7 separate regions of the Homo sapiens genome follow, and regions 1, 2, 3, 5, 6 and 7 are each linked to region 4. Evidence: promoter capture Hi-C in 16 types of primary human blood cells and fetal thymus (Javierre and others, 2016). All regions are on one chromosome and are shown on one strand. Each heading gives the region's core, a stretch centred on a gene start or on the middle of the fragment in contact. The rest is flanking DNA. Distances are from core to core; before and after follow the strand shown.

The links. Contacts are between HindIII fragments. The CHiCAGO score rates a contact against its expected background, and 5 or more counts as called.
Region 1: a contact is called between a fragment that was not itself captured here and the fragment with the promoter of AGAP2 in region 4, in 1 of 17 cell types (monocytes). The highest score is 5.4, in monocytes.
Region 2: the fragment with the promoter of PA2G4 here is called in contact with the fragment with the promoter of AGAP2 in region 4 in 1 of 17 cell types (monocytes); the score reaches 7.8 in monocytes.
Region 3: a contact is called between the fragment with the promoter of PYM1 here and the fragment with the promoter of AGAP2 in region 4, in 1 of 17 cell types (monocytes). The highest score is 5.5, in monocytes.
Region 5: a fragment that was not itself captured here is called in contact with the fragment with the promoter of AGAP2 in region 4 in 1 of 17 cell types (monocytes); the score reaches 6.9 in monocytes.
Region 6: a contact is called between the fragment with the promoter of MYL6B here and the fragment with the promoter of AGAP2 in region 4, in 1 of 17 cell types (monocytes). The highest score is 9.0, in monocytes.
Region 7: a contact is called between a fragment that was not itself captured here and the fragment with the promoter of AGAP2 in region 4, in 1 of 17 cell types (monocytes). The highest score is 8.9, in monocytes.

What each region holds. Positions count from the first base shown.
Region 1 is chr12:56,191,762-56,195,791 of GRCh38, reverse strand. It overlaps LOC107984468 (a long non-coding RNA gene), which reads right to left. Exons shown (of 2, transcript XR_007063330.1): 2 at 775-2,699. Among named protein-coding and RNA genes, the nearest start is that of TRS-CGA4-1, 3.4 kb to the right of the region's middle. The HindIII fragment of the contact is 1,406 bases long and covers 1,440-2,845 here.
Region 2 is chr12:56,102,897-56,106,599 of GRCh38, reverse strand. It overlaps PA2G4 (proliferation-associated 2G4), which reads right to left and starts at 2,041. Exons shown (of 13, transcript NM_006191.3): 1 at 1,775-2,041; 2 at 1-12. The coding sequence starts at 1,862. It overlaps ERBB3 (erb-b2 receptor tyrosine kinase 3), which reads right to left. Exons shown (of 28, transcript NM_001982.4): 28 at 3,095-3,703. It overlaps LOC105369782 (a long non-coding RNA gene), which reads left to right and starts at 2,181. Exons shown (of 2, transcript XR_944995.4): 1 at 2,181-2,312; 2 at 2,682-2,786. RefSeq lists enhancers at 1,767-1,986, 1,997-2,346. The HindIII fragment of the contact is 2,269 bases long and covers 978-3,246 here.
Region 3 is chr12:55,926,154-55,930,125 of GRCh38, reverse strand. It overlaps PYM1 (PYM1 exon junction complex associated factor), which reads left to right and starts at 2,232. Exons shown (of 3, transcript NM_032345.3): 1 at 2,232-2,401. The coding sequence starts at 2,365. It also overlaps a transcript of DGKA not described here. RefSeq lists enhancers at 1,961-2,541, 2,621-2,790, 2,831-3,050, 2,542-3,122 and a silencer at 3,141-3,290. The HindIII fragment of the contact is 1,291 bases long and covers 2,191-3,481 here.
Region 4 is chr12:57,736,414-57,740,158 of GRCh38, reverse strand. AGAP2 (ArfGAP with GTPase domain, ankyrin repeat and PH domain 2) reads left to right here and starts at 1,417. Exons shown (of 19, transcript NM_001122772.3): 1 at 1,417-3,080. The coding sequence starts at 1,913. RefSeq lists a silencer at 2,045-2,264. The HindIII fragment of the contact is 3,748 bases long and covers 1-3,174 here.
Region 5 is chr12:56,172,723-56,176,808 of GRCh38, reverse strand. SMARCC2 (SWI/SNF related BAF chromatin remodeling complex subunit C2) reads left to right here. Exons shown (of 29, transcript NM_001330288.2): 16 at 2,045-2,158; 17 at 2,960-3,113; 18 at 3,780-3,872. Among named protein-coding and RNA genes, the nearest start is that of SMARCC2, 15 kb to the left of the region's middle. The HindIII fragment of the contact is 6,713 bases long and covers 1-4,086 here.
Region 6 is chr12:56,150,014-56,154,054 of GRCh38, reverse strand. It overlaps MYL6B (myosin light chain 6B), which reads right to left and starts at 1,468. Exons shown (of 8, transcript NM_002475.5): 1 at 1,424-1,468; 2 at 1-182. The coding sequence starts at 136. It overlaps LOC124902942, which reads right to left and starts at 2,228. Exons shown (of 3, transcript XM_047429954.1): 1 at 2,008-2,228; 2 at 1,424-1,649; 3 at 158-246. The coding sequence starts at 2,061. The coding sequence ends at 212. It overlaps MYL6B-AS1 (MYL6B antisense RNA 1), which reads left to right. Exons shown (of 3, transcript NR_186043.1): 3 at 3,070-3,259. LOC124902943 (a long non-coding RNA gene) reads left to right here and starts at 182. Exons shown (of 2, transcript XR_007063328.1): 1 at 182-926. RefSeq lists an enhancer at 2,315-2,394. The HindIII fragment of the contact is 15,658 bases long and covers 1-3,755 here.
Region 7 is chr12:55,975,931-55,980,088 of GRCh38, reverse strand. The region is part of intron 1 of RAB5B (RAB5B, member RAS oncogene family); the gene reads right to left. It also overlaps the pseudogene LOC100131294. Among named protein-coding and RNA genes, the nearest start is that of RAB5B, 3.9 kb to the right of the region's middle. The HindIII fragment of the contact is 1,194 bases long and covers 2,140-3,333 here.

The sequences.
Region 1 (4,030 bases), core at 893-3,392, 1.5 Mb after region 4:
AACCTCATCTCTACTAAAAATACAAAAATTAGCTGGGCGTGGTAGCATGTGCCTATAGTCCCAGCTACTCCGGAGGCTGAGACAGGAGAATCACTTGAATCCAGGAGGCGGAGGTTGCAGTGAGCCGAGATGGCGCCACGGCACTCCAGCCTGGAGACAGAGTGAGACTCTGTCTCAAAAAAAAAAAAAAAGTTAGTTACATAAAAATAATTTTAAGTCCAGGCCCAGTGGCTCATGCCTGTAATCCCAGCACTTTGGGAAGCCGAGGTGAGAGGATCACTTGAGGTCAGGAGTTCATGACCAGCCTGGCAGCATGGTAAAATCCTGTCTCTACAATGCAAAAATAAGGCGGTGTGGTGGCGTGCGCCTATAATCCTAGCTACTCGGGAGGCTGAGGCAGGAGAATCCCTTGACCCTGGGAGGCAGAGGTTATACAGTGAGCCATGATCGCACCACTGCACTCCAGCCTGGGCGACAAAGTGAGACTAATTTTTTTTTTGAGACAAAGTCTCACTCTGTCGCCCAGGCTGGAGTGCAGTGGTGCGATCACGGCTCACTGCAACCTCTGCCTCCGGGGTTCAAGCGATTCTCGTGCCCCAGCCTCCTGAGTAGCTAGGATTACAGGCATGCGCCACTATGCCCGGATAATTTTTTTATTTTTAGTAGAGACGGGGTTTCACCATGTTGGCCAGGCTGGTCTCAAACTCCTGACCTCAGGTGATCCACCCGCCTCGGCCTCCCAAAGTGCTGGAATTACAGGCGTGAGCCACCGTGTCCAGGCAAAATAATAATACTTTTAAGATCTAAGAATTTATTGCTGAAAAGATCATTATATGGTGAGACTACCTAGTTAGTAAAGAGAAGGAACTTCATGAGGGATGGCAGGGGTTGGGCTGTCACACGGAGATGACCAGCCAGATTAGATGGAAGGTATCTTAGTGGAAAGATGTAAGGGTAAGAAAAACGGGCAATTTAGGCAGGGTATGTTGATAATAGGATCATGTGTTTGTTTAGATGGGGAACTGAGTTCCTGGACAGGGGAATAATATGATGAAAGCAGTGTAATCACACTAATATAGGGTGGATTTCAGTGTGGTGAAACTAGGGCACCTTGAAGGCCATCGTAACAGGCATGAATTAAGATGATGTGCTTGGGGAAGCAACTGATGAATCAGTGTGATGGGCTTGGGAGAAAACAAACTTCAGATAATTAATTCTTAGAGCTGGAAATGAAGGAATTGAGTGAATAGTGGTATCAACAAAAGTGGGAAAAGTTCAGAACGATGATTGTGAGAGAGGAAGAGAAGCTTTGTTTGCATATTAGGTGACACTAGGTCAGCTGTGCAGAGATGTGAACAGCTGGAGATAAAGGACCATGGTTTAGCTGAGGACATACCTGGAAAGGTGGCTCTGAGATTTTGTCTCGGGAGAATGAAGCTTTGGTGGAAATTCCACAGGAGGAAGAAGAAAGCAAATGAGGTGGAGAAGCAGTATACTGAGAAGGAGAAAAACAATAAGTGTTTCTGAAGGCCAGTAAGAAATCAATGTTGTTTCAAACACAGAAAGGATGGAGACTGAGAAGAGATTATTAAATTTGTCCAGTGGTTTCTATTAACGTCTAAAAAACTTCAGGAGGCCGGGCGCGGTGGCTCACACCTGTAATCTCAGCACTTGGGGAGGCTGAGGCAGGTGGATCACTTGAGGTCAGGAGTTCAAAACCAGCCTGGTCAACATAGCAAAACCCCGTCCCTACTAAAAATACAAAAAAAAAAAATTAGCCAGGCGCATGGTGACAGGGACCTGTAATACCAGCTACTTGGGAGGCTGAGGCAGGAGAATTGCTTGAACCTGGGAGGTGGTGGTTGCAGTGAGCCGAGCTTGTGCCACTGCACTCCAGCCTAGGTGAGAGAGCAAGACTCTGTCTCAAAAAAAAATAAAAAGTAAAAAAGTAAAAAAGAAAAAAAAACCAAAACACTTCAGGAGGCAGAAACCAGATGACGGGGTATCTGATAGTATGGAACTGGAGGCAGAAAGGTATACATTTTATTCGAAAAATAAAAGGAAGTAGAAAACAATGTGGAAATTTGAAAGTGTCAAATGAAGGTGGGGTTTTGTTTGTACTGAATTCATGAAGGATTGATCCAGTGGAGTAGAGGAATTTTAAGGTGTTATGGAAGGATATTTATGGAAGGTTCCTTAGGAGGTTTAAATGAGTGGGACTACAGGCTTAAGTGGAGAAGGTTACTTCAGGGAAAATATGGAAGGCCACATACTGTAGCAGGAACTAAAGAATGCCAGTGGGTGATATGTAAATATGTAAGAATGGTGAGAGAGAGGGGGCCAGATCATGCAAGGTAAAGAAAGGTAAAAGAATAGTTAGGATTTGTTGGAGTGGAAGAGGAAGGGTGAAGGAATTGGGGAGATGGGGTGGGTACATGGGGATGGTAGAAATTTAAAATGATCTATTGTATATGAAGGTTTGAAGCCTCGGCCTCTCACCCACAAAAGTTACAAGAGAAGCATTTGAGAGTAAAAGGGATGAACTTCAAGTAGCAAACTACCTCTGCCATATTTCCCTTCTTGGTCCAGATCCTCCATTTTGTAAACCATGGAGCCTTCTTCCCTTCACAACATAGTTGTTGGTTGCCCTCTGCTGGTCAATTCTGGTCTTGGCTCTCCAGATATTTAAATATGAGAACCTGTGCAAATTGGGATTTGGTAGGAAGGAGAATCATGAGCCTATGAGATTTTATAAATTCATTCAACACATAGTTGATCACATCTATAAGGCCTTGTAGAGAAGATACAAATAAATAAAATACACAGCCCTAACTCTCAAGAAGCTTATATACCAGTCTAAAGATTAAAACATGTACACATAACTACTGTAAAAAACACCCATTTATGCAAAAAAATTTTAAAAACTGACTCCTTATCTGTGTTTAATGTGTTTATATGCCACAGGGGAAGAAAGACTTCACATAATAAGTTGAGAGCATAGGATGTGGTAGGCAACAAGTGGTCAGAGAAAACTCCACAGGAGAACCAACATTTAGGTGGAGAATGAGTAGAAAGTGTGGAAGAGAAAGATTATTCCAGGCAGAGAACACCATGAGCAAGGCTAAATAACTACCAGGAAGAACTAAAAGAATGCCAGTGGACAGAATGTAGTGAATATGGAAGAGTGGTGAGAGAAAAGGGGTCATATCCTGCAACACAGAAAGCAGCCATAGAAGGGTTTAAGGTCCCGGACTGCAGTGTGGATGCTTTAGTGCAGTTTTCTATATATTACCTCGTATGGTGCTCACAAATACCACTACCTTCCAAATGAAGGCTCTAGCTCAGCCTGCACTCACCCCTGAGAAAAGTGAGCATATTTGAGACATATTTAGAAGGTAAAATAAATGGAACCTGTTTCTATTTTATTTTAATTTTATTTTATTTGAGACAGAGTCTTGCTGCATCGCCCAAGCTGGAGTGCAGTGGCACGATCTTGGCTCACTGCAACCTCTGCCTCTTGGGTTCAAGTGATTTCTCCTACCTCAGCTTCCCAAGTAGCTGGGATTACAGGCGCCCGCCAACCACACCCAGCTAATTTTTGCATTTTTAGTAGAGATGGGATTTCACTACATTGGCCAGGCTGGTCTTGAACTCCTGACCTCGTGATCCGCCTGCCTCAGCCTCCCAAAGTGCTGGGATTACAGGCGTGAGCCACCACACCCACCCCTGTTTTTATTTTATTTTTATGTTAGCATATCAAGGGAGAAGTCCTTGCATGCAATTTAGTGAATGGTGGTGGTGGTAGACTGACAGGCAGCTGGAGTGATCAAGAGCATCAAAGAGGAGGGGCCTAAAGAATTTTGGAAAGTGTTAATGGTGAGGGACAGGGAGGCAATGTGAGGGTCATGCTGGAAATAACAGCCTGAGCAGTGGTATGAAGGTGGGAAACTCTAAGGTATAAATGTGTAGAAAGCTCTATGTATTACCCTAGAGCCCCCTGCCCTTTGGGATTCCTTTTGGACAAAAGGCT
Region 2 (3,703 bases), core at 792-3,291, 1.6 Mb after region 4:
ACCGAAGTACCCCTGAGGACAGAATCCCATCATGTCAGCCTTGTATGTATTCATTGTCTAGTTACCACCCAAGGAATACCTGGAAGTTGAATTTAAGAGTTTCCATAATACTCCCTGGTGCCATTGCCCTGAGGCTGAAAGGTCAACATTCCCTTCTCTTCCTTACATTATGTGACAACTGGGTATATACAATCCATCTCCCTAGGCAAGGCCTCAGACTTTCCAAAGATGCTACCTTTGGTGTGACAGGACAGAGTTATGAACTTCAGAGGGTTCTTGCCATGGTATCCCCACATACACGCAAAGACTAGATGAAATTTATAGGCATCAGGGACAAGAAGGTAGACAGAATTGCTGACTCGAAGCCGATGCACTGTTAAATGTTACCGCATTCCTTTCTCAGACACTCTAATTAGGTGTTAGGAATCTCAATCTATATAGACTTATTTCCTCATAAACAAGTGCATAAGCCAAGGAAACTTAATCTAAGGTCCCTGGGTTTCATTTCGGGGGATCATGGCTTATCTAAAAGAAATATGAGGCCAAAGTTATAAACTGTAAGAGATTTTCTGATTCAAACCACTAGTATCTCAAATACTAAAAGGCACCAAAAACCAGGGTACGATACTAAATGTCCACTGTGATATAAAGCACAGGTTTGACTTTTGGTATCTCAGTTTTGGTGATTCTTTGAAAGCTGGTAAAACTCAGATTTTCACCCACAGGACGGGAGGCATCCTAAATACCTGTTCCCCACCATCTTTGCTGTTAAAACCATTTAAAAGCACAATGACAAGCAGTTTGTATCTCCCTAACTGGAATAAAATGGAAAGGCTAACTGGAAAGAGAGAAAAGAGAAAGTGGCATCTGCCTAGAGTGACAGGCAACTGCTGAGATCGTCAGAGCACACCTGGAGTAAGGATGACTTGTGAAAATCCTAAAATCAGTCCTCCCTTTTCCAGTAATGTTCACAAGCTTGCCTAGTTGGGATAAGACGGAGACCCCAAAACATTTGAGTTGTCAAGTCACTGAGAACAACAAATGTGAATGCTAACTAAGACTATCTGCACAGATTGGAAAGGTGGTAGTAATGAGTAACTTCAAGAAAAGCCATATATATCTCCAAGACTTGCATTAGAAGCTCCAGGAGTGCTCTCCAACGGTCTCCTTAGCTGGCCCAAGGTAGAAGGGGGCCCCCACCAGGGTAAGAGCTGAAGTAAAGAAGGAAAGGCTCCAGCAAAGCACGTGGTGGGGAAGCTGGTGGTGGGGAAGCTGGTGTCAGGGACACTAGCGGAGTAAGAAGGGGGCCAGCCATCCGCAATGGGACCCAGCAACACGTGCCGGCTTGGCTCCTGACGCCCCGGAGACGCTACAAAAACAGAGGGGCACTTCTGTCGCCAATAGCTGGGCGCTTCCTTTTCGAGGTGGCCTCGCCGCTGCCAGAATCAGAGGAAGCAATAATCGGGAATGAAGGATAGGAACAAGAGAAAACACGTCTTGCCTCCTAACAAACGGCCTCGGGTCGGAGCCTGCCAGGGTCCCCTCTCTGCGCTCATCCTGGTCGCCGACCCGCACCTCCATAGACTTCAGCCTGGGCCTGCCCGCTCAGGTCCCAGGCGCGACACCGGGTCTTCCCACCACGCCGTGCCCAGCGGACCGGTGCGGGCCCCTCAGTAGCTCAGTCCGCATGACCCCTCCGCTCCAGCCCCTTCCGGGCCAGCCTGTTACCTTTCCCTATCAGCCTTGATTCCCCGACCCCCGAGGCCGCACTCACTGTTGGCGATGTCGCCCCCCATCTTATACTTGGTCACGACCAGGTCCTCAGCGATAGTTTGCTCCTGTTGCTCGTCCTCGCCCGACATCTTCCTACTACCACCACTGCAGCCTCGTTTCCCCTGAGCCGCCGCCGCCTCTGTCTCCCTTCCCAGCCACAGGCTGTGGTCAGAGTCCCCTCGATCCTCGAGGAGAGGGCGAGCGAAAGCGCGAGCAAGCAAGGGAGCGGGCAGGCAGGCGAGAGCGAGAAGCTGCGAGCGCGCGGGCTGAGGCGCAGGGCACGCTGGGACAACTAGTCCTCTCGGCCGCCAGACTCTAGCCGCTCTCGAGGGCCTTCGAACTACAATTCCCAGCCTGCCTCTCGCGCTCCTAAGCCAGGCCCTGGGGCCTTGCCCTCCAAGGGCCTCGCACGCCGGAATCGCCGGGCACTCTGGGAAGGGTCAGGCTCCGGCGGGAAGGCGGAGCCGTTGGGGAGCTTGAGGGGAAGCGTGGTCTCTCCCGGAAAAACCACTTCCACCGAGAACGCTGAGCGAGAGCCAGTAACAGAGAGGGGCGGGCTGAGGGGAGAGGGGCGGAGCTACGGCGGGGAAATAGGTTTAAAGTCGAGCGGGCAGGGGTGGAGTAGAGTGGAGCCGCAGCGGGTGGGCAGTGTCTACACCTAGGTCGGGGAGGCTGGGTGCGCCCTTCTTCGGATCCCTGGGTCGGCTGGCGAAACCCGCCCAGCCGGTCCAGTCGTCCTCCGAAGCTGGGAGAACAGGGAGGGGCAGACAGGTGGAAGAAGACCAAGGGTGCTGGTAACGGGGGCTAACTGGGCAGCCAGACACCGGAGGGATCATCCATTTAAAGGCCTCGCAATCTAGAGGCCGGACTCCTAATGAAGTAACATGACTTTATTGTTCCAATAACAGGCACCTGGATGGAGCACCTAAGGGAAGTGTTCAGAAAGACATGTTTGTTGAGAGTTCTTACCGTGAAAAAATAAAAAGATTTGATGACTTTTCTAAGATAATGAATTCAGAAGCATCTGGAGGTTTCAGTGTTTGGCCTCTGAAGGAGGGCTTATAGGGCTTTTTATAAGTCCTAAAGCACGTAGGTTCTTTTTGTTATTCCCAATTGGTTGCCTTGTAGATTCCTACTAAAACCCTTAATGAAAAGGACTATGCGCTATGGTTGTTCTAAAGAAATAGAAGTAATAGTAGGACTAGAGAAAGCTGCATGGGACAGAGTAGCACTGTCAGAACACAGAAAGGTGAGTATCCACTGCTGAGGAGCAGATCTCTTATCTAACATACGAAATGTCTTCATTTGACAGACAGGAAGCTGAAAAAAAACTTTGGCATTTTTATTCAGACACGTATAAAAACAAAACAAAAAACTTCAGTGATACAACAGACGTTTTCCCTTAGTTCCCCATCCAAGGGGACAGAGGTGTGCAGCTGAAGCTGGATCTTTTTTCTGTCCTACCTGGAAGCTTCTCACTGCTGGATGAGAATGGCTTCTAAAAGTGGATCTTGGGGATCCTTGTGAATTTGCCCTCGGATAAGGAGTGAAGATCATTTACGGCACATGTGGATTATGGTTTACACAAAGATGTCCAGTTATTTTTCCTTCTGACTACCCCCACCACCACTTCCTGAGATGAGATGTCTAGGTATAGGAGGATGTGGCTGTTGGGGTTAGACTTGATTCAGTGCAAAAACAAGAAACAGTGCCCCTTAAACAAGGGCTGTAACTTAAATCAGTTTTTCTTGGCACCTTACAATAAGAGCACATGCACAGGAATTGGGAGGATTTTGCATCCTGGATCTACTGCTTAATTTATTTCATCTCTTTAAGGCTCAGTTTCTTTTTTTTTTTTCCCCTGTAGAGACAGTGTCTTGCTATGTTTCCATAGGCTTATCTCTAATTCTGGGCTCAAGTGATCTTCCCA
Region 3 (3,972 bases), core at 983-3,482, 1.8 Mb after region 4:
CTTTAAACAAACATACAATGTAAGAATAGGTCCCCTAACACCTCTGCCTATCAGTTTTCTGTCCCTGGATCTTTCATTTAGAAATCTTGGAACGATATTAATCTCTAAGGCACTCAGCTTTCCTTGCAAAGAATGCTCAAAGTAATGCCACCCTATGTATTACCTGTGTTTCTCACTCTATCGTCTTTAGATATGTCCCTAAATAAAGTTGAAGACACTCCTTTTAAGATAGTTTTTGGTACTTCAAAGTGGGGTGTAATGTTATCTCTCGAATAAGGAATAAGGTGGAATCAGTCTTACTCTAGACTTCTTTGTGTCTTCTTTAGGATCTGTGCTCCATCATACCCCAAGTCAGTTACTGGGGGGTGTGGGTGGGGGAAGAAAAGCCAAGAAACATCTAAGAAGGAGGCGTTTAATGCCTACGGTTCCAGGTGCTCATTTCTTTAATCAACCACATCATAAAAATCAGAAAGAAAGAAACCGCAATGAACAAAGGGAAAGGAAAAAACAACAGCCTGTTCTCCCCGGCCTTTTTTGCCCTGTTCCTCCTCAGGGTGGGGGGCCACATCCGGGGCCCCGGGTTGGGTCCCAGGCAGGTCTACTAAGCAGACAATTGAGTTTCACTTCCTGTCAACCCTAGTGCTGAGGCAGGATGTCTGGGGGTGGGAAGGGGGCCTAGGGTTGGTAGTGAACAGGGGCGACTTTAGGTTTCCCTCCTGCACAAAGGTCTATTGAGCAGCCTCTGAAAGCTGCAGAGACCACTCCTGAGGTAGTTCAGTCAAGACCAACGTATCCCATTAGTTCTTAGAGGCTTCATCCCACACTCTCACGTCTAATCATAACAAGGTTAAGGACAAGATGTTAGACCCTGCAGGGCTGAAGTACAATCGGTGAAAAGAGAGCAAGGGTTTAAGACCACAGTGTCACAACACTTGCAATAACAGTGTATCGTATGCAAATACTTTTTATTTATTTATTTTGAGACTGAGTCTTGCTCTATAATACAAGCTGGAGTGCAGTGGCACGATCTTGGCTCACTGCAACCTCCACCTCCCAGGTTCATTCCTCAGCCTCCCGAGTAGCTGGGATTACAGGCACTCGCCACCACACCCGGCTAATTTTTGTATTTTTAGTAGAGATGGGATTTCACCATGTTGGCCATGGCTGGTCTCGAACTCCTGACCTCAAGTGATCTGCCCACCTGGGCCTCCCAAAGTGCTGGGATTACAGGCATGAGACACCGCACCCGGCCTGGAAATACTTTTTAAATGAGCCCCACCCCCAGACATTCTGAATTGGCCTCTAGTGGAAGTCACAGACATGGAGGATGGGAAGGAAGGCAAGCTGCGGCCCCCAGAAAACTTCTGAGGCCTAATTTGTCTTATAAAGGTCCTAGTCAGCCATTGCTCAGTTTTTTAGTTTTTTTTTTTTTTTTTTTTTTTTTTTTTTGAGACGGGGTCCCACTCTGTCGTCCAAGCTGGAGTGCAGTGGAGCGATCTTGGCTCACTGCAACCTCCGCCTCCCAGATTCAAGAAATTCTCTGCCTCAGCCTCCCGAGTAGCTGAGATTACAGGCACCCGCCACCACGCCCGGCTAATTTTTTTGTATTTTTAGTAGAGACGGGGTTTCGCCATCTTGGCCAGGTTGGTCTTGAACTCCGGACCTCGTGATCCACCCGCCTTGGCCTCCCAAAGTGCTGGGATTACAGGCGTGAGCAACCGCGCCTGGGTTTTGTTTTGTTTTTTAAATGGGACATGCTGCCTAGTGTTGGAGGTAGTCACCAATACTTACCTCCTGCCTCCTCCCTGGTTCCAGGGGTACTGCTGGACATTAAACTAAGCCAAAGTGGGGATATAAGCAGGAAGGTAAAAGGGTTGATAAGGAAAAAGCTATATGAGGGTGGAGGAGGGCAGAGTTGACACCTGAGGAGAGGAACCTGCAGCCGGGCTCCTCTCAGGCTGTAGGGGAAACAAGTTTAACAGGACTTAGCCCTGAAGGAACAACAGTTGCTGAAATGGGCGGCGGAGGGAGACCATATGGGTTCGTCTGCAGAATAGGGAGGTACGGCGCAGGGCAGGACTACAAATGGAGTGACACTACGGGACCGGATTATTGGCGAGTTGCCCCGCTTTAGATCCTCAGCGGTTGGACGAGTTTAATTAGAATACTAAGTAGGTCCGCCCAGAAGCTTTCACCCTGCCCTCTGACCCTAGGGCCCAGCCCGAGGAGGCACTCAGGGTTAGGAGGTCTGGGCGAGAAGCAACTAGGGCCCTCATCACTTCGCCGCCGAATCCCCGGCGCCGCCCAGCGGGGCAGAGCCAGGCCAGGGCCGCCCGCCCAACCTGGTCCGCTGCCTCTTCGGCCATGGAAGCTGCCGGCAGCCCTGCGGCTACGGAGACAGGTGACCGACCCGCGGCGCCCTCCGCCTTGCACGCCCCTCCCGCGGGTCTCTGGTGGTTGAGTGGGTTGGCCGACAGCAATCGGCACACGAATTCGACCTCCCCACCTTCTTAGGGTTAGATAGGGTCTCCAACCGTCCCTAGAAACACTTGTGCGCCCCAGTGCGTTCCTGGAGTTTGTCTGCTCCACGTCACCAAGCCGCTCTGAGATCTGGGTGCAGGCCAGAGCCTGGATATTCTTCCTTTCTTCATTTATAAGGCCCCCTTTTTGGGTGCAGGTGGGCCTTGCGCCCTTTTCCCTCGCAGGTCCTGGACGTACGAGGAGTTCCTGGGGATGAGAGGGACTGTGCCTCGGAACTTCTCTTGGCTCCCTGAGGACTGTTTTACAGGCAGCAAGCGCTCAGTAATGGTATCGGTGGCAGTAAAAAGCCCACGGCTTTATTTTATTAACTATTTCAGCTTCTCCACTCTTCCTCCTCCTCCACCTCCGCCCATGAAATGGTGCACTCTCCCTTTAAGACTAAGATGGTGGCTTGCTACGATCGGGACTCCACTTCCGGTGGGGAGGGGGGCGGGACCCCAGCCCGCTCACGCCGGAAGTGGTTTGCGTTTTCAAGATGGCGACTCCCTATGTTACTGACGAGACCGGCGGTGAGTGCGGGAGGCGCGGAGCCGCTTCTCTCCGGGCTCTCGGGGCAGGGGTTCGGACTTGGAAAGGGGTCTGTGCCCCGCCCATCCCGGGGCCCCTCCTTTGCCCCGCCCCCCGGACCGCCTTCCCCATTCATTCTCTCCTACGGGGTGTCTCCTGCGCCCCCTTCTGGTCTCGTGTTTGGGGTCTCTGCTTCCGGTCACCCAAACCCTGGGGTCCTTCAGTGCTGGTCCCTGCTTCAGGACCCTCACGGGCCCTTAGCTTTTCTCCAGCAGTTGGACCACTCATATCTCTTTTAGGTTCTTCAGGCTTGGGGGCTTCTACACTCTCATTTCCCTCCAGTTCCTGCCCTCCTTCTTTTCCCCTCCCCCATCTCAGCTATACTTGGTTTCTGCCCTACCCCAGTCCCGTTTTCATTATTTTTCTCGAAGCTTTATTTGCTGAAGACCTCCTCGTTTCTACATAGTACCTTTTCCTCTCCCGTATCTTCATTTGTTGGGTCACTGAGGTTTAGAGGTGTGAAGGGAAGAGGACCCTAATACAACTTTCAGCTTGAGTTTTCTCCCTGATGGAGCCACCCTTCGCTACCTTCTCCCGTGATGGTGATAGAAATTGAGGGGTCTAAGGTGGGAAAAGGCAAACAGGAAAGTATCTAGTGGCTTTTCTCCGAAGCCCTTTGACAAGTGAATAAAACCCACTATTCCTTCTGGCTAGAGAAGAATTTGCAGCCTGGCTGGCCGAGATGCTGAAGTGTCTGCTGTGTATGTAAGGTGTATGTGTTGGAAACGGAGAATCACAGCTTTTATCATGGTTTTGTCCCTTCCTAATGGCCTCATCTTTAGGAAAATATGCATAGTAGTAATAGCTACTCAATGATGATCAAATAATATATGTAAAAGCAATTTATAAAATACTGTGCAAGTG
Region 4 (3,745 bases), core at 168-2,667:
GCAGCACTTATTATAGTCTCAGCTGCGTCAGGAGGGTGGGACGCCAAATCAGGGGACTGCTGTGACTCCCCAAGTCCCGGGAAGGGGTCTCCAAGGCTGCAGAGAGACCTTCCTTCGCCCATCTTACCCCACCCCCAAGGGGTCTCAACCTCTTTTCCACTTTGGCCTAACCACTTCAGGATTCTCACCTGGCTGGAGGATAGAGAGCCTTGAACTCCAAGACCCCTAGAGGGGTGGGGGACACGGAGCAGACGGTTTCCATTCACTCTGCCTGCCTCCTCTTTAATCTTCTGAAAGAATCCCACTCAGCAAACCTCAGGAGACTGAAAGGGAACCCTGAAGAGGCCGGCTCTCACTGCCTCAACTGAAGGGTCCTTATACTTGGGGAGTGAAATCCTCCACCTGTGGGTAGCCAGGTGTCAGGGCAGTGCCTCCACTAATTCAGCATCCCGCGGTTGGTCCCCTACCCACCATACACACGGATTCCTCTCTGCTTCTGCCCGCTGTTTCTGAGGCACTCTTGGAGCTACGGTTGCTATGGAGACTGGATGCATTTTGGCATGGGGGGGTATCAGTCTAAGACACATCCTTCTCCCTCCTCCTAGAGCTGGAGCCTTTGACTTACCCTGTGGCCTGGGCTCCTCCAGCACTCAGATCTCTCCCTTCTCTCCTACCCTGCTAAGTTCCATGTTTGTCCCCATCCCTGGGGAACATTTTCCAAGTTCACTTTGGGACAGTCGAGCTCAAGTCTTGGCCCCGTCAAAGTATTAAATGTGGTGGTGTGAGTGGGAAAGGGAGCTGGGTCATGAGAACGGGAACCGTCCAGGTACCTGGGGGAGACAAGAGATCCTGGGGGAAGGGATTTCAGGGCCCCCACTTTCCCACTTCATCTTCCCCAGAATTGGCAGTGACCCTGGGTTTGCTCTGTTTACCGCGGCCCCTGTCCACCCAATAGATCGATTTTCACCCTTATCCCTAAATGCCATACCTCACAATCGCGCTTCCTAACCTTGGTGCGCGAGAGGAGGGGGCTAGGTTGTTGGAGGAGGTGAGTCCAAGTCCCAGGAAATCCAGCCCAGGATTTGGGAGAGAAATCCAGCCCTGGATTTTGCACCGCCCTCGCAGACATCGGTGCTGGTGGAGAAAAGGTGGGGGGGAGATAGGGTGGGGGGGCCTGGGGGCCGCCTCCTCCTCAATGTGAGGGGAGCGCCCGGACACAGCGCGCATCCGGACCAAGCCGAGCCCAGGCGAGGCCCCCGGACTCTTCGCCCGGATCTCACGCCCCTCCCCTCCCAGACCCCAGACCCGTGGGTTCCCACCCACCTCCCGTTCCCTCTTTCCTCCCCCGCCGCCTCCTGTATCTCCATCCCCAGCATCCTCCCCGCGCCCCTGCGAATCCCCCGCACGGCCAGCCCCACTAGCTTCCCACCCTCCTCTAGACCCTCTTTCCGACCGCATCCGCGGCCCCTGTCCCTTGAGTCCCAATTCCCCGCCCCTGCCTCCCCCGCACAGGTTCGTTTCCCCTAGCCTCCGGTCCCCTTTTCTGCTCCCTTTTCCTCTCTCTCCCCCATTTGCCCCCACTACTGTCCTCCCCGCCCTCCCCCACCCATCTCAGCGCCCCCACCCAGGCCGGGGTGGACGGTCCGGCGCGCCTCCCTGGAGCAGCACCAAGGTCCCGGGGCTCCAAGAGGGTGGGGGCGCAGGGCGGGGAGCATGGGGAGGGGGCGCCCCATGTGATGGGAGGGGGGCGCAAGCGGAGGCGGCGGAGGCGGCGGCGACAGCGGAGCCGGGCCGGGGGCTCAGCGGGGTCCGGGGGCTGGGGGCAGCGAGCAGGGCGGCCCCATGGCCGGGCCCCCCTGAGGCAGTCCGGGGGAGTCCCCTCCCCTCCCCAGCTCGGGGGTCTCCGGGCCCCATGAGCCGGGGCGCGGGCGCGCTTCAGCGCCGGACAACGACCTACCTCATCTCGCTGACCCTGGTTAAGCTCGAGTCGGTGCCTCCGCCGCCGCCTTCTCCGTCTGCGGCCGCGGCCGGCGCCGCCGGTGCCAGAGGCTCCGAGACTGGGGATCCTGGCAGCCCCCGAGGCGCGGAGGAGCCGGGCAAGAAGCGGCACGAACGTCTCTTCCACCGGCAGGATGCGCTGTGGATCAGCACGAGCAGCGCGGGCACCGGGGGCGCGGAGCCCCCAGCCCTGTCCCCGGCTCCGGCCAGTCCGGCCCGCCCAGTCTCCCCCGCTCCCGGCCGCCGCCTCTCCCTCTGGGCCGTCCCTCCGGGACCCCCGCTCTCCGGGGGACTGAGCCCCGACCCCAAGCCTGGGGGCGCCCCCACCTCCTCCCGGCGCCCCCTGCTCAGCAGCCCGAGCTGGGGCGGCCCGGAGCCCGAAGGCCGGGCGGGCGGCGGCATCCCTGGCTCATCCTCTCCGCACCCTGGCACCGGCAGCCGGAGGCTCAAGGTGGCGCCTCCTCCGCCGGCTCCCAAGCCTTGCAAGACCGTGACCACGAGTGGAGCCAAAGCCGGCGGGGGCAAGGGCGCGGGTAGCCGCCTGTCATGGCCCGAAAGCGAGGGCAAGCCCAGGGTCAAGGGGTCAAAGAGCAGCGCCGGGACTGGAGCTTCGGTCTCTGCCGCCGCCACCGCCGCCGCCGCCGGGGGAGGGGGCTCTACAGCTTCGACCTCTGGTGGGGTCGGGGCTGGGGCTGGAGCCCGAGGGAAGTTGTCCCCTCGGAAAGGCAAGAGTAAGACCTTGGACAACAGTGACTTGCATCCGGGACCGCCTGCCGGCTCTCCTCCTCCGCTAACCCTCCCACCAACTCCGAGTCCAGCCACTGCTGTCACCGCTGCTTCCGCGCAGCCCCCCGGGCCTGCACCTCCAATCACTCTGGAGCCTCCAGCTCCGGGGCTGAAACGGGGCCGGGAGGGGGGCCGAGCATCCACTCGTGACCGCAAGATGCTCAAGTTTATCAGCGGCATCTTCACCAAGAGCACAGGAGGGCCTCCTGGCTCCGGGCCCCTTCCCGGACCCCCCAGCCTGTCTTCTGGCAGCGGGTCCAGGGAGCTGCTGGGCGCCGAGCTCCGCGCTTCCCCTAGTGAGTTGAGTCAGGGCTTGAGAACAGGGAGGGAAGGGTACCTGGAATGCTCAGCTTGGGGTGGAGGAGCGAGGTCCAGGAAACTAGGGAAGCTTTTCTCTGGGGTGGGCGGATGAACCAAGCTCACCCCTCTGTCAAGGATTGGGGCAAAGAATAGGAGTCCTGAAGCGGGGCGAGTAGCTACATTGTGCGACAGGAGAAAGGACTTGATTTCAGAGGGACTCAGCCTCAGAGCTTTCTGGGAAAGTAACGTCCTTGATCAGAGTGACTAGAAAATTGCTCCCAGAGAAGCCCAGGACCCCACTTCCAGCCTCAGCTGAACTCTGGGAGCATGGAAACGGGGCTTTGCCGTGTTTAGAGCGACGTTGAAGGTGAAGGGGATGAGGAAGCCTCAGTTTCCCCTGAGCACTTGGGGCAGGTGGCATGACAGTGACCTTGCAGGCAGCTTCTCGCCAGGGACTAGTCGTCCCCTGGGCTGAGAGCAGGCTAGTGATGTTTTTCGTGCGGTGAAGGCGGATTGGGCGGTACGCGAGTCCGCGGGGGCTGGAACGTGCAGAATATTTAAATGTGAAGTGAGAGGGGGCGGATAGGAAGCCTCACTTCCCCCACTGCCCACCCCCTCCCCAGAGCCGCATTGAAACCCACCCGGGGCTGACCCTGGAGTG
Region 5 (4,086 bases), core at 705-3,204, 1.6 Mb after region 4:
ATTAGCCGGGCGTGGTGGCATGCATCTGTAGTCCCAGCTAGTCTGGAGGCTGAGGCAGGAGAATCACTTGAACCTGAGAGGCAGAGGTTGCAGTGAGCCGAGATCACGCCACTGCACTCCAGCCGGGGTGACAGAGCGAGACTCCGTCTCAAAAAAAAAAAAAATTAGCTGGGCGTGGTGGCAGGCGCCTGTAGTTCCAGCTACTTGGGAGGCTGAGGCAGGAGAATGGCATGAACCTGGGAGACAGAGCTTGCAGTGAGCCGAGATTGCGCCACTGCACTCCAGCCTGGGCGACAGAGCAAGACTCCGTCTCAAGAAAAAAAAAAAGATTTTGCCTCAGGCCAAACCTGCTTGGCTTTGGATAAGACATGGCAGTCTTCTTTGGTTAGGAATACTTCAAGATAACCACATTGATGAGGTGGGTGAGACTGAGAACTGAACAAGTTTTCTTCCCAGCTATTCCACAGCTTCCCCTCTCTGGGGGTCCCTCCGTGTTTTTTCTTCATAGCTTGCTATGGTTCTCTCTTCCTTCTCTTCCTGGAGAAAGCAGTATGTGTGAAAAGAAAGTAGTGATCAGGTGAAATGAATTCAACATGACATGCAGGCAGGGTTGGAGTAGGAACTGAACTCTTGGTATAAAATAGTAAATGATGGCTGGGCATGGTGGCTCACGCCTGTAATTCCAGCACTTTGGGAGGCCCAGGCGGGCAGATCACGAGGTCAGGAGTTCGAGACCAGCCAGGCCAACATGGTGAAACCCCGTCTCTACTAAAAATACAAAAATTAGCTGGGTGTGGAGGCACGCACCTGTAATCCCAGCTACTTGGGAGGCTGAGGCAGGAGAATCACTTGAGCCCGGGAGGTGGAGGTTGCAGTGAGCCAAGATCTCATCATTGTACTCCAGCCTGGGCAACAAGAGTGAAACTCCATCTCAGAAAAAAAAAAATAGTAAATGATGATAATTGCCTGCATCTATTGAGAGCTTAGTATCTCCCAGGCACTATACTAAATGTCCAACCTACATTGAGTAATTTAATCTTTACGTCAACCTTAGAGGTAGATATCATCTTCAGTTGACAGATAGGGTATAGAGGAGTCAAGTCACCTGCATAAAGTCACAGAGCTAGTAAATAAAACCAGGATCTGAATCCTTTAATCTGGCCCATGATCTGAAACTTTACACTGTACCACATGATAGCTGCCATTTTTTTGAGCCCCTACAATGCGCCAGGCACTATACTAGTACTTTATAGACCTCTCAACAGACATTCCATTTTACAAATGAGGAAACTGAGGTTTAAAAATTCGAAGTAAATTGCCAAGGTCCTCATGGTAGAACTGGGATTTGAACTTAGATCTTTTCAACTTCAAAACATATGTTTTTTACCGTGGTATGCTGACTAGCTATATGCATGAATAAGGACTTCCTTTTAACATCTGAGTTTGGAAATGAGTATTTTCTTAACTTCTAATTCCTTGTTTAAAAATTGTATAAAATGGCTAGGTGCAGTGGCTCATGCCTGTAATCCCAGCACTTTGGGAGGCTGAGGCAGGAGGCTCACCTGAGGTCAGGAGTTTGAGACCAGCCTGACCAACATGGAGAAACCCTGTCTCTACTAAAAATACAAAATTAGCCGGCCGTGGTGGCACATGCCTGTAATCAGAGCTACTGAGGAGGCTGAGGCAGGAGAATCTCTTGAACCCAGGAGGCGGAAGTTGCCATGAGCCAAGATCATGCCATTGCATTCCAGCCTGGGCAACAAGAGGGAAACTCCATCTCAAAAAAAAAAATTGTATGAAATATCCCTAAGTATAGCCAAGGAGATAATTCATTTAAAGAAAACCCCATCAAGGAAAAGTAAGACATATTTGAAACCCTTTCATCTAGCACATAGCAGGCACTCAGCATGTAGAGTCAAATAATCTACTTTTTTCCATCTTTATCATGCAGGAGAAGTCATTAGCTCTCTTACCATTTTTTCCTTTAGCCCTTTAACAAACATTTATTTTTCTTCTTCTTGTTTCTCTCTCTCTTTCTTCTAAGCTACCTGGCCTATCGAAACTTTATGATTGACACTTACCGACTGAACCCCCAAGAGTATCTTACCTCTACCGCCTGCCGCCGAAACCTAGCGGGTGATGTCTGTGCCATCATGAGGTGGGTCTTGTGGCTGAGGGGAAGGGGGTACATGAGGATGCCTGCCTATGGATGTGTTTTGGCAACAGTAGAGATGCCAGCAAGGAACACAGAGGAGCAGACAGAAAAAAGCACCTCTAGAGAAAGGTGAAGTACAGGTTTGGGGAATGAATGACTTGAGGGATTAGCAATGGCATTCTCTGAAGTGTAGAATATAGGACAAAGAAGGAGCATGTCTGTAATTGAAAGATACTGGTTCAGGCCAGGTGTGGTGGCTCATGCCTATAATCCAAACATTTTGGGAGACCAAGGTGGGAGGATTGCTGGAGCCCAGAAGTTCGAGACCAGCCTGGACAAAATGGCAAAACCCCATCTCTAGAGAAAATGCAAAAAAATTAGCTAGGCATGGTGGCACGTGCCTGTGGTCTTAGTGACTCAGGAGGCTGAGGTGGGAGGATCCCCTGAGCCCTGGAGGTGGAGGCTGCAGTGAGCGGTGATCACACCACTGCACTTCAGTCTCTCTTAGGGAAAAAAAGAAAGAAACTGGTTCAGTTTTACTAGCTATTCAGGAAGAAATGTTCGGTAGGTAGGTAGATATAGAGATTGGCCCAGGCTGAAGATGTAGACTTGGGTGTCACTGGCATTTAGGTGATAAATGAACAACTGGAGTAGGTGAGATTTCTTAAGGAGTACAATGAACAGAGGAAAAGGCCGGGGTTGGGTGGGGAGGGGGTTTATGCCCCTTCTACCCCCCACTTTTCCTCTTCCTCGTGCACCTTTCTGGCTATCCGTGTGACCCTGTCTCTGCCTCTCTCTGCACAGGGTCCATGCCTTCCTAGAACAGTGGGGTCTTATTAACTACCAGGTGGATGCTGAGAGTCGACCAACCCCAATGGGGCCTCCGCCTACCTCTCACTTCCATGTCTTGGCTGACACACCATCAGGGCTGGTGCCTCTGCAGCCCAAGACACCTCAGGTAGGGTGAGGTGCTATGGGGATGGGGCGGGTTGGGAAGATTGGGCTTCTTTGAACTTTTCTTTTTCTGGTTTTTAGGGTAATGGTTCAGGAGTGTTTTGAGGCTTCTTCCTTTTCCATGGGATGCAAAGGGTCACGGGAATCAGCCCCATGTGTTTAGCATCCTCTCTCAGCCTTTGTACCTAAGGCTGTAATTGCTGAGGGAGAAGAGATTATCCTTTTACTCAAGGAGTAGACAGGCTAATGTAGGGGAGTCAATAGAGAAAAATGGCTTAAAATTAACTTGCATGAAATTTTTAAACTTTGTCATCTTTGCCACATTTTTTCATTTTTGCCTCATAATTATCATCTTCATTTTTTTTTCCATTTCCACTTCATCCATTACAAAAATTAGGAAGAAGGTTATGTGGCTTGCCCAAGGTCACAGAGTACCAAATCTAGGATTAGAACCTAATTGTCCAGCTCCTAAGAGAACCTATAAAGATAATGTGAATATGTATGGATATCATGCCAACGACATGTCTTATTAATCATGAAGGGAACATGGAACAGTGGCATGAGTGCCCCCAGAGCTTGTGGGCCGCCCAGCATATGGTCTTGAGGCCTCCAGGGCCTTGGCCTGGTCATTTCCTGCCCAGCCTCCATGACGCCAAGCTCTGTCCCCCAGGGCCGCCAGGTTGATGCTGATACCAAGGCTGGGCGAAAGGGCAAAGAGCTGGATGACCTGGTGCCAGAGACGGCTAAGGGCAAGCCAGAGCTGGTAGGTGGGGTGCAGACCCTGCTGGGCTGCTCATTTTCCCCTTTATTGGGGGGCCCCTGCCCGGGAAGAAGAGACATGAGAGCAGAGGAACTACAGCAGTAAGGGAGGAAGTCCCACCCAGGGGTGTCCCTGGCTTTGGGAAAGAAGCTCCTTCTGTCTGTTTTTTCTCTCTGTCAGCCCCTGGCTCCCGGTGGTCACTTGTACTCACCTGTTT
Region 6 (4,041 bases), core at 219-2,718, 1.6 Mb after region 4:
TCTGAGGGGCCTGGGGGACAGCTGGCTCAGCTTTGGTCTTGGCTGGAGGAGCCCCTGCTGCTGCTGGCTTAGCAGCAGGTTTGGAGATGGAGGGCCCTGCTGGTTTCTTCACGGGAACATCCTTCTTGGGAGGCATGATGTCCGGTGGCCAAAGGACAGTGTGCGGATGGGGGCACCCATCTCTGTTTAAATAGCCAGGGAGTCTGGGATGTCAAGGGGCGGGGGCAGGGGCAGGGAGCCAGTTGGCTGTGGCAAAGATGAGGTAGAGGAGAGATATAACCGCCTGCCCTCACTCCCCTGGCCTCCTATGGTTCAGGACTCCTGCCCCAAGGTCTTCTTCCCTCTGTCCCCTTATCCCCAAAGGCTGACCAGAAAAGAACAATGTTTCCTTTAGGGGTAGGGGAGGAAGCCAGAGACTGCCCAGAATGAGGTAGTTAACCTCCAGGGTGAGGATAGGATGCTTGCCAGTGGCACTGAGATGGGGGTGGTGAGGCAAAGCAGGTGATCCAGCAGCTTTAGTCTTCTTGAAGGGTGGGGTGAGGGGTAGCAGCCAGGGAGGCTTGTGTGAACTGGAACAAGTTAAAGTGTGGTCTGGGAGCAATGACAAAAACAAGAAGCCCATCTGCCCAGCCCCTCCACTCCCTTCTGACCATGGCTTTGTAAAGAGCAGGGGTAGTTAACCTTAGAGTCTAATGATCCCTAATACTTGTAGTTCCTGAGCCCCCACCCAGCCAAGAACTGGAACTATTCACAGTATAAAGGAAGAATAGTCATAAAAACAGGAGTATGACATCCCTCATTGTCTCCTGTGCCCAGTGTTGTTTTAGGGGCAGGAGTGGGGGCAAAGATCAGGTTTAACATCTGCTACCCATTCTTCCATGGAAGAAACCTTCCACAAGCCCACGGTCATTCAAGACAAACAAAAGGTAGGGTGCTTGCTGAACCTGTGGGGACCCTTTGGTGGCACCTGAGGAGAAGGGCAGGCTCTGGGAGACGGCTTAAATTCCCTAATCCAAGAGGATGTGGGCGCTCCTATGGCTCCATGAGTATTCACCCCACAACCAGGGGTATAATAAAAATCCTGACTCAGGGGCCAGGTCACAAACCTTGCCAGGGGCGCTGGGAGAGAGTCCAAGTTGGGGGGCGTTTGGGAGTGGGGAGGGATTGCAGGCTACTTTTGTTCTGGGGTAAATTAGGAAAGGATTTAGGTAGCATTCTGAGGAAGATAGCAGTGATTCCACTTAGGCCCCGGGGTTGATGCTGGGTCTCCCATTCGCAAAACAGCGTCTGAATCTCATGACTGCAAATTGTCCCATTTTTACAAAATACATCACACACACACGACACACACACACACACACACACTCACGCACCCCCACTAAATCTTAAAGAAAATGGCCCTCCTCAGCCCCCAAAAACTCACCCTGCGGGGTCCGTGTCTGGGGCTGGGGAGGGGGCGGGGCATAGCGCGGCCCCCAGCCCTGAAGGGTTAATTCCGGTGGCCGCGGAGCATGCCGGGAGTCGTAGTTCCCCGCGGGCTCACGGGATGCGCCGCGCTCTAGATTGCAGTTGACGCGAGGGCGGTGGCTTCCGGCCCATGGCGGTGGTTGGTGACTCAGTGTCCTTCCAGCGCGCTTTATGTCCCGGAACTGAAAGGCAATGAACAATTTCCAATCCACCCCAACCCTAAAAACCCTGCGGGGCCCCTAGGGTATCCCTCCTACTTAACCCTGGCGGGCTCCTAGTCTCGGGAGGTGGAGGGGGCGGGGCGGCTGTTTTCCTGGACCTACTGCTGAAAGAACTCAGAACCTGGGGAAAGATTGAGGCTGCAGCAGGCAGCGTGGAGGTCAGATAGCTGGAAGCACTTAACGGCCCCGGGGAGAACCGCTGCACTCTCTTTTGCTTCCTCTCGCGGTTTGGTAGAAAAAAAAGAGGCCTCAGAGTAGTTTGTTTTTAATGAGCTGGTTGCTGAAGTAAATGTTAAAATTTGCAATTAAGCCCAGTCACCTGCCCCAGCCTTCTCTGATCGAGGTTTCCATCCTGCGGCAGCATATGCGCCATCCTCCTCGATCTTCACAGGTCTCTGAGCGGAGGGCTGGGCTTTCCAGCCCTACTTTCTGAAACTCTTATGGTCAGCATTGGAGTTCACTGGTTCCCCTAGGCGTTGATCAGAGGATGGGAACCAGCCCGGCCGGGCCCACCTTCACTCACTGGATCAGTAAATACCCTGGCGGTGCACCTGGTGTTGGAAGCTGGTGCTGCACAGGCGTGTGAGGATTAGATCAGAGCAGAAAACTCGGGCGATGGCAGGGTGGTGAGGCACAGGTGAACTTTATGGGCAGTAAGTGAGGTTCACTGGTTGGGGAAAGTTTATTGGAAAGGTAGAAATGAATTGTACGACAGAAATAACGATAATAGTAAGTTAGCAACCATTTCTGGAGGCCGCCATAGATCTCGTACCGGTGAAGGGGCTAAATTATCTCAGAGGGTGCTCAAGTGGATGGGGTTCAGACAGCCTACTCAGATTTAAATCCTGGTTCTACCAGGTCCTAGTTAGTGACCCTCAGCAGGTTTAGTTATCTCTCCTGGGCCTCAGTTCCTCATCTGTAAAATAATGATAATGGTACCTACCTCATAGGGCTCTTCGGAGGATTCGAAGTGTTATTATTGGTAAAATAGGGCCGGGCTTGGTGGCTCACACCTCCCAGCACTTTGGGAGGCGAGGCAGGTGGGTCACCTGAGGTCAGGAGTTCGAGACCAGCCTGGCCAACATGGTGAAACCCTGTCACTACTAAAAATACAAAAAAAAAAAAAAAAAAAAAAAAAAAAAAAAATAGCTGGGCCTGGTGGCGGGCGCCTGTAATCTCAGTTACTTGGGAGGCTGAGGTCGGAGAATCACTTGAACCCGGCAGGTTGCAGTGAGCCGAGATCGCACCACTGCACTCCAGCCTGGGTGACAGAGTGAGACTCCAACTCAAAAAAAAAAAAAAGTGTAAAATAGAATAGGCCTGGCACAGCATAAGTGCTGTATAAGTTTTTGTTAAATAACTTTCCTTTAATCTTCCCAAGGTATGAGGTCGCTGATATTTTCCCCATTTTACATCAATGAAGTAAGGATCAATAGGTGTTGTGAAGAGACGGAGAGGAAGAAGGAATACATTTTTAAGTGGTTATAAGACTGGGAAAGGGCCACATTATAGATGCCTTTGTGTGGCTTTCATTACTTTTGCAGACATTGATTTCAAAATATGGCTCTTGTAATTTTTTTTCTTTCCTTTTCCCATTTTTGGCATTTTGCCAAGTATGAGTGGTTATGGCATCATCTGACTTTCTAGCATTTTCTATAGAGAAGTAGTACAGGGAAAAAACGTTAAGACCCTTGCAGAGATGGGAAGGCTATCCTTCATTTTCTGTGCCATCCCTGTCTTGATCATAAATAACAGGAACTGGACGAAACATGGTCTTAACTGGGCATAGGGTGATTATATATGTGAATTATCTGTGAGAAATGCCTGTCTCTCCTCTCTCCTCTCCCTGCTTAGCATGTGATTTGTATATTCTTATTTTTCTTTGGTTTTGTTTTTTTCTAGAAATGAGGTCTCACTGTGTTACCCAGTCTCAAACTGAGCTCAAGTGATCTTCCCATCTCAGGTGCCTCCCAAAGTGCTGGGATTATAGGTATGACCTACCTTGACTGGCCTGTATATTCTTAGAGATTGCATTTTGTGGGCAGGGAGGGAGGTGAGTCCGAAGCTTGCTTGCCTTCCCTAGGCATGCCGTCCTCCAGGAACCTCCACATGTTCAGCTGTCCAGAGTGGCCCATTAGATTGAAAGAATATGGAAAGCCATTGGGGAGCTGTTCCGCAGTGCACAGGTCTATGCACACTTACCCCCAAAGTCCAAGGAAGCTAAGAGGTTGAGGAAGGAGGCTGACAAATCCAGTTTCTTAGAAATATTTAATAGGAATTTATGAACAGAAGCCATGTCTGTGTCTTGGGTAGTGGTGAGACACGATGGTGGATCCCCAGGACATCATCCCCT
Region 7 (4,158 bases), core at 1,487-3,986, 1.8 Mb after region 4:
AGATCAGGTTTTAGGGTCCTGCAAAGGGCTAGCTCGGCACTACACTAGGGAATTTGCTCCTGTTCTGTCACTTGTCATGGTCTTTCTTGGTATTAAAGGCCACCATTTGCACAAAAAATAAATAAATAAATAAAAAATAAAATAAAATTAGTCAACTTGTCAAGTGTTACCATACAGCCAACTGCTAAGCAGTAAATGTAGGACTCCTAGTCAGGTACTCCTGCCTCTTATACCACTATACTTCTTAAGGAAGCAGGAAATGCTGAACTCTAAAGAGAACACCAGGACAGGATCGAGAGCTTAGACTGGATAGAGTTCCTGCCTCTATTCAGTTTAGGTAAGTACTTGCTTTGGGACTAAAAACAAATTAAGAAGACCCAGGCCTTCCTTGGCAACTGGGATGCAGTCCCATATCTTTCTGACAGAAGAATTAATTCATCACTACTCTTTTCTAGAAGGTCTATGACCAAACCCTGCCAGGACAGTTGAAATAGAAGCAATTCAATGAGAGGCAATAGGAAAACAAGCGGTAACTTTTGCAGAATTTGGTGGGCCCTGCGATTAATGTGAGAGTTTTACTAAGTAGGGAAGATAGAGCAGAAACCAGTAAATACCTTCATCTCCCTCTCCAACTCTGTTTAAACCCAAGTCACCAAAATCTTGAAATGAGAGTTCTACCACTTGGCTCAGCTCTTCATTTTGTTGATCCAGTGTTACCTAATGAGTCATTGGATTAAATGAGATTCCTTCCACATCTCGCACCCTTTCCCTTATATTTCTCCAAGAGGCAAAAAGCATACTTACCTCTTATCAGTATGGTAGTACAAACTCCCTATTATTGACCTAGGTAAGATTGGAATGCCCGTCCCTACTTGTCTGCCTAGCAAAATTCTATATATCTCATAAGACCAAGCTCAAATGTTACTTCAGTGAAATTACATAATCACCCTCTCCCCCACAGAATTAATCATTCTCTAGAGGCCCGTAGGGTCCCACAGTATTAAGACTGTATTTCTGGCCAGGTGTGGTGGCGCACACCTGTAATCCCAGCACTTTGAGAGGCCAAGGCAGATGGATCACTGGAGGTTAGGAGTTCGAGACCAGCCTGGCCAATATGGTGAAACCCCGTCTCTACTAAAAATACAAAAATTAGCTGGGCATGTTGGCACAGGCTTGTAATCCCAGTTACCCAGGAGGCTGAGACATGAGAATTGCTTGAGCCCGGGAGGCGGAGGTTGCAGTGAGCACAGATTGCACCACTGTACTCCAGCCTGGACAGCAAAGCAAGAATCCGTCTCAAAAAAAAAAAAAAAAGACTGTATTTCTATAATAGTATGTATCACATTATCACAGTATATAAATTGTGTCTGTCTGCTCTGCTAAACTATGAACTTCTTTAAAAGTGGGAGTTTATCTTAAAATCTTCAGAGCACAGCATGCTGCCTGATCCCTAGTAGGTGCTCATTAAATGCTCCCTAAATTAAGGCTAAGTAATTCTACTTCTCTCCCCCAATCAACTCCTCCCTTTCTGTACCATCTGGACAGATCTTACTCAATTCCATTTGGGTTCTTTTTTTTTTTTCCTGAGACGGAGTCTTGCTCAGTCGCCCAGGCTGGAGTGCAGTGACGCGATCTCGGCTCACTGCAAGCTCTGCCTCCCAGGTTCACGCCATTCTCCTGCTTCAGCCTCCCGAGAAGCTGGGGGACTACAGGCGCCCACCACCACGCCCAGCTAATTTTTTGTATTTTGTTTAGTAGAGACGGGGTTTCACCGTGTTAGCCAGGATGGTCTCAATCTCCTGACCTCGTGATCCACCCGCCTCAGCCTCCCAAAGTGCTGGGATTACAGGCGCATGCCACCGCACACGGCCCCATTTGGGAATATTTTTAATAGGCCTCAGAATCAATTCTCTCCCTGGCTCCTCTGTGATCTCCCTTGGATGGAGGGCCCCCTTGGGATCTTGCCCACAAGGTACTATTGCAACTCGCATGGGCTAACTGCTTTTCCTGTCACCCGTTACTATGCCTCAGATGGCCTAATCACACCCAATATGTGGCCCTCCCACCCAAACACTGAGGCAACTATAGCTAAAAACAAAGTTCGCTGAATTTTCAGTTGATGTTGAACGGTCAAAAGCTTTGGGCCACTATCTATTAATTCCTGACTTGAGAAACACAAGTTTAAAAAAAGGAGCCATAACACCACAGAACCAGGAGACACTCTGAAAAGGTACCCACTGTCCCTGAACAGAAGCTACAACCTTGCCCAGAAATGTACACATACTTTGTTCACCTGGGTAGCTCCTTATTCAGTTCAGTTACTGTTGAGTCAATGGCTAAATCTTTCCCAAAACGGAAGTGGGAGTATACCATGTAGGGTTTTATGGTATCCTTCCTCCAAGAGGGCTGCTGCATTTCCTTATTATAAGTTCATTGTCTCACACTTTGGTTACCTTCCAATCTGAAATGCTTTAGGATTAGGGAGCAAACTATACGCTTGCTTCTTCTACCCTATGCCTCCTTCTCAGAAGTAAAATTCATACCAATAAGCAATATTTGCTCCCAGGTAAAGTAAGAGTTAGAAGATATGAGGTATGTTATGCAGTAGGGATTGTCCAGGAAAAAAATTTTAAAAGATATGAGGTATGACTTGAAGGGCAATGGGAAAGCTCTCTTCTCCAAATATATTTTTGCAACTCCAGGTCTATGTATGAAATTCCTTATTGATAATTCTACTCCTAAACTCTCTTAGGATGCAAAAAACTGTTGGAAAAATTAGATAGGATTAAAACACACACACACACACGCACACACGGCCAGGCGCGGTGGCTCACTCCTGTAATCCCAGTGCTTTGGGAGGCTGAGGCACGTGGATCACCTGAGGTCAGGAGTTAGAGTCCAGCCTGGCCAACATGGTCAAATCCCGTCTCTACTAATAATACAAAAATTAGCTGGTCGTGGTGGTGCACGCCTGTAATCCCAGCTACTCTGGAGGCTGAGGCAGGAGAATCGCGTGAACCTAGGAGGCAGACGTTGCAGTGAGCCGAGATCATGCCACTGCACTCCAGCCTGGGTGACAAAAGTGAAACTCCGTCTAAAAACACACACACATACTCCTACACAACTGTCTCTAGGACTGGCTTGCAGGTGAGAAAAGTTCCTTGGGGGAAAAAACCGAGGTTTCCAATGGGCGCTGTACAAAGGCTGGGTACAACAGAGGGCTTTTAAAGCTAGTAAGGACAAATTCAATTAATAAGGTGGTAGTATGAAATGCCCCAGCTGTACTCTGACTCTGAGATTTAGAGGAAAACCGATTTCAAATCCAGATAAGCTTGGAGCTTCTCAGATCCCTACAGAAAGACACACACTGTACTCCAGCCTAAGTGACAAAGCAAGACCCTGTCTCTAAAAATAGAAGAAAAGAAAAGAAAGACAAATACAGGGGCCTCTTAGGAGAACCATCATCATCATGGATAAGAAAGGGATAGTCAAGTAATGTGAACATGCAGAGACCATGAACATCCAGAGACCATGAATTTGAGATAAGGGTCTGAAATTCCTTTCTTTAGCAGAGATGCCAACAATTATCCCAACCAAAATGATCCTTTCTCCCCATAAAGTTTTGTTCCATCTCTTTGGGCACTTCCTAGGACACCCAGCACACAACTTGGGGTGTGTGTGTTTGTGTGTACTCAAGGTGAATAACACACAGTACAGCCCTCTGCTTGTCGGACTTGGTAGAAGACAAAATGAACTGTGAAAGGAACACAATAAATAACAGAGTATCATCCCAGAAGGGAAAACTGTAGAAAGAATAAGACTAGAGTTTGATGAGAACATGAAAACACAATTGCCTTTTGTGACACATCCCCCAAAGCAAAGCAAGATTAGTCTGATTTGCTGTCTCTGATCCTTGACCTTCCTAAATGAAATATGAATAAGGTATGTGTGGGAGGATTTATACTTCTTAAACTGCTGTACACCTTCCATATTTTAAAATATGTACATATTAACTTTTGTAATTAAGAAATGTAGTGATGGCCGGGTGTGGTGGCTCACGCCTGTAATCCCAGCACTTTGGGAGGCCGAGGTGGGCGGATCATGAGGTCAAGAGATTGAGACCATCCTGGCCAACATGGTAAAACCCTGTCTCTACTA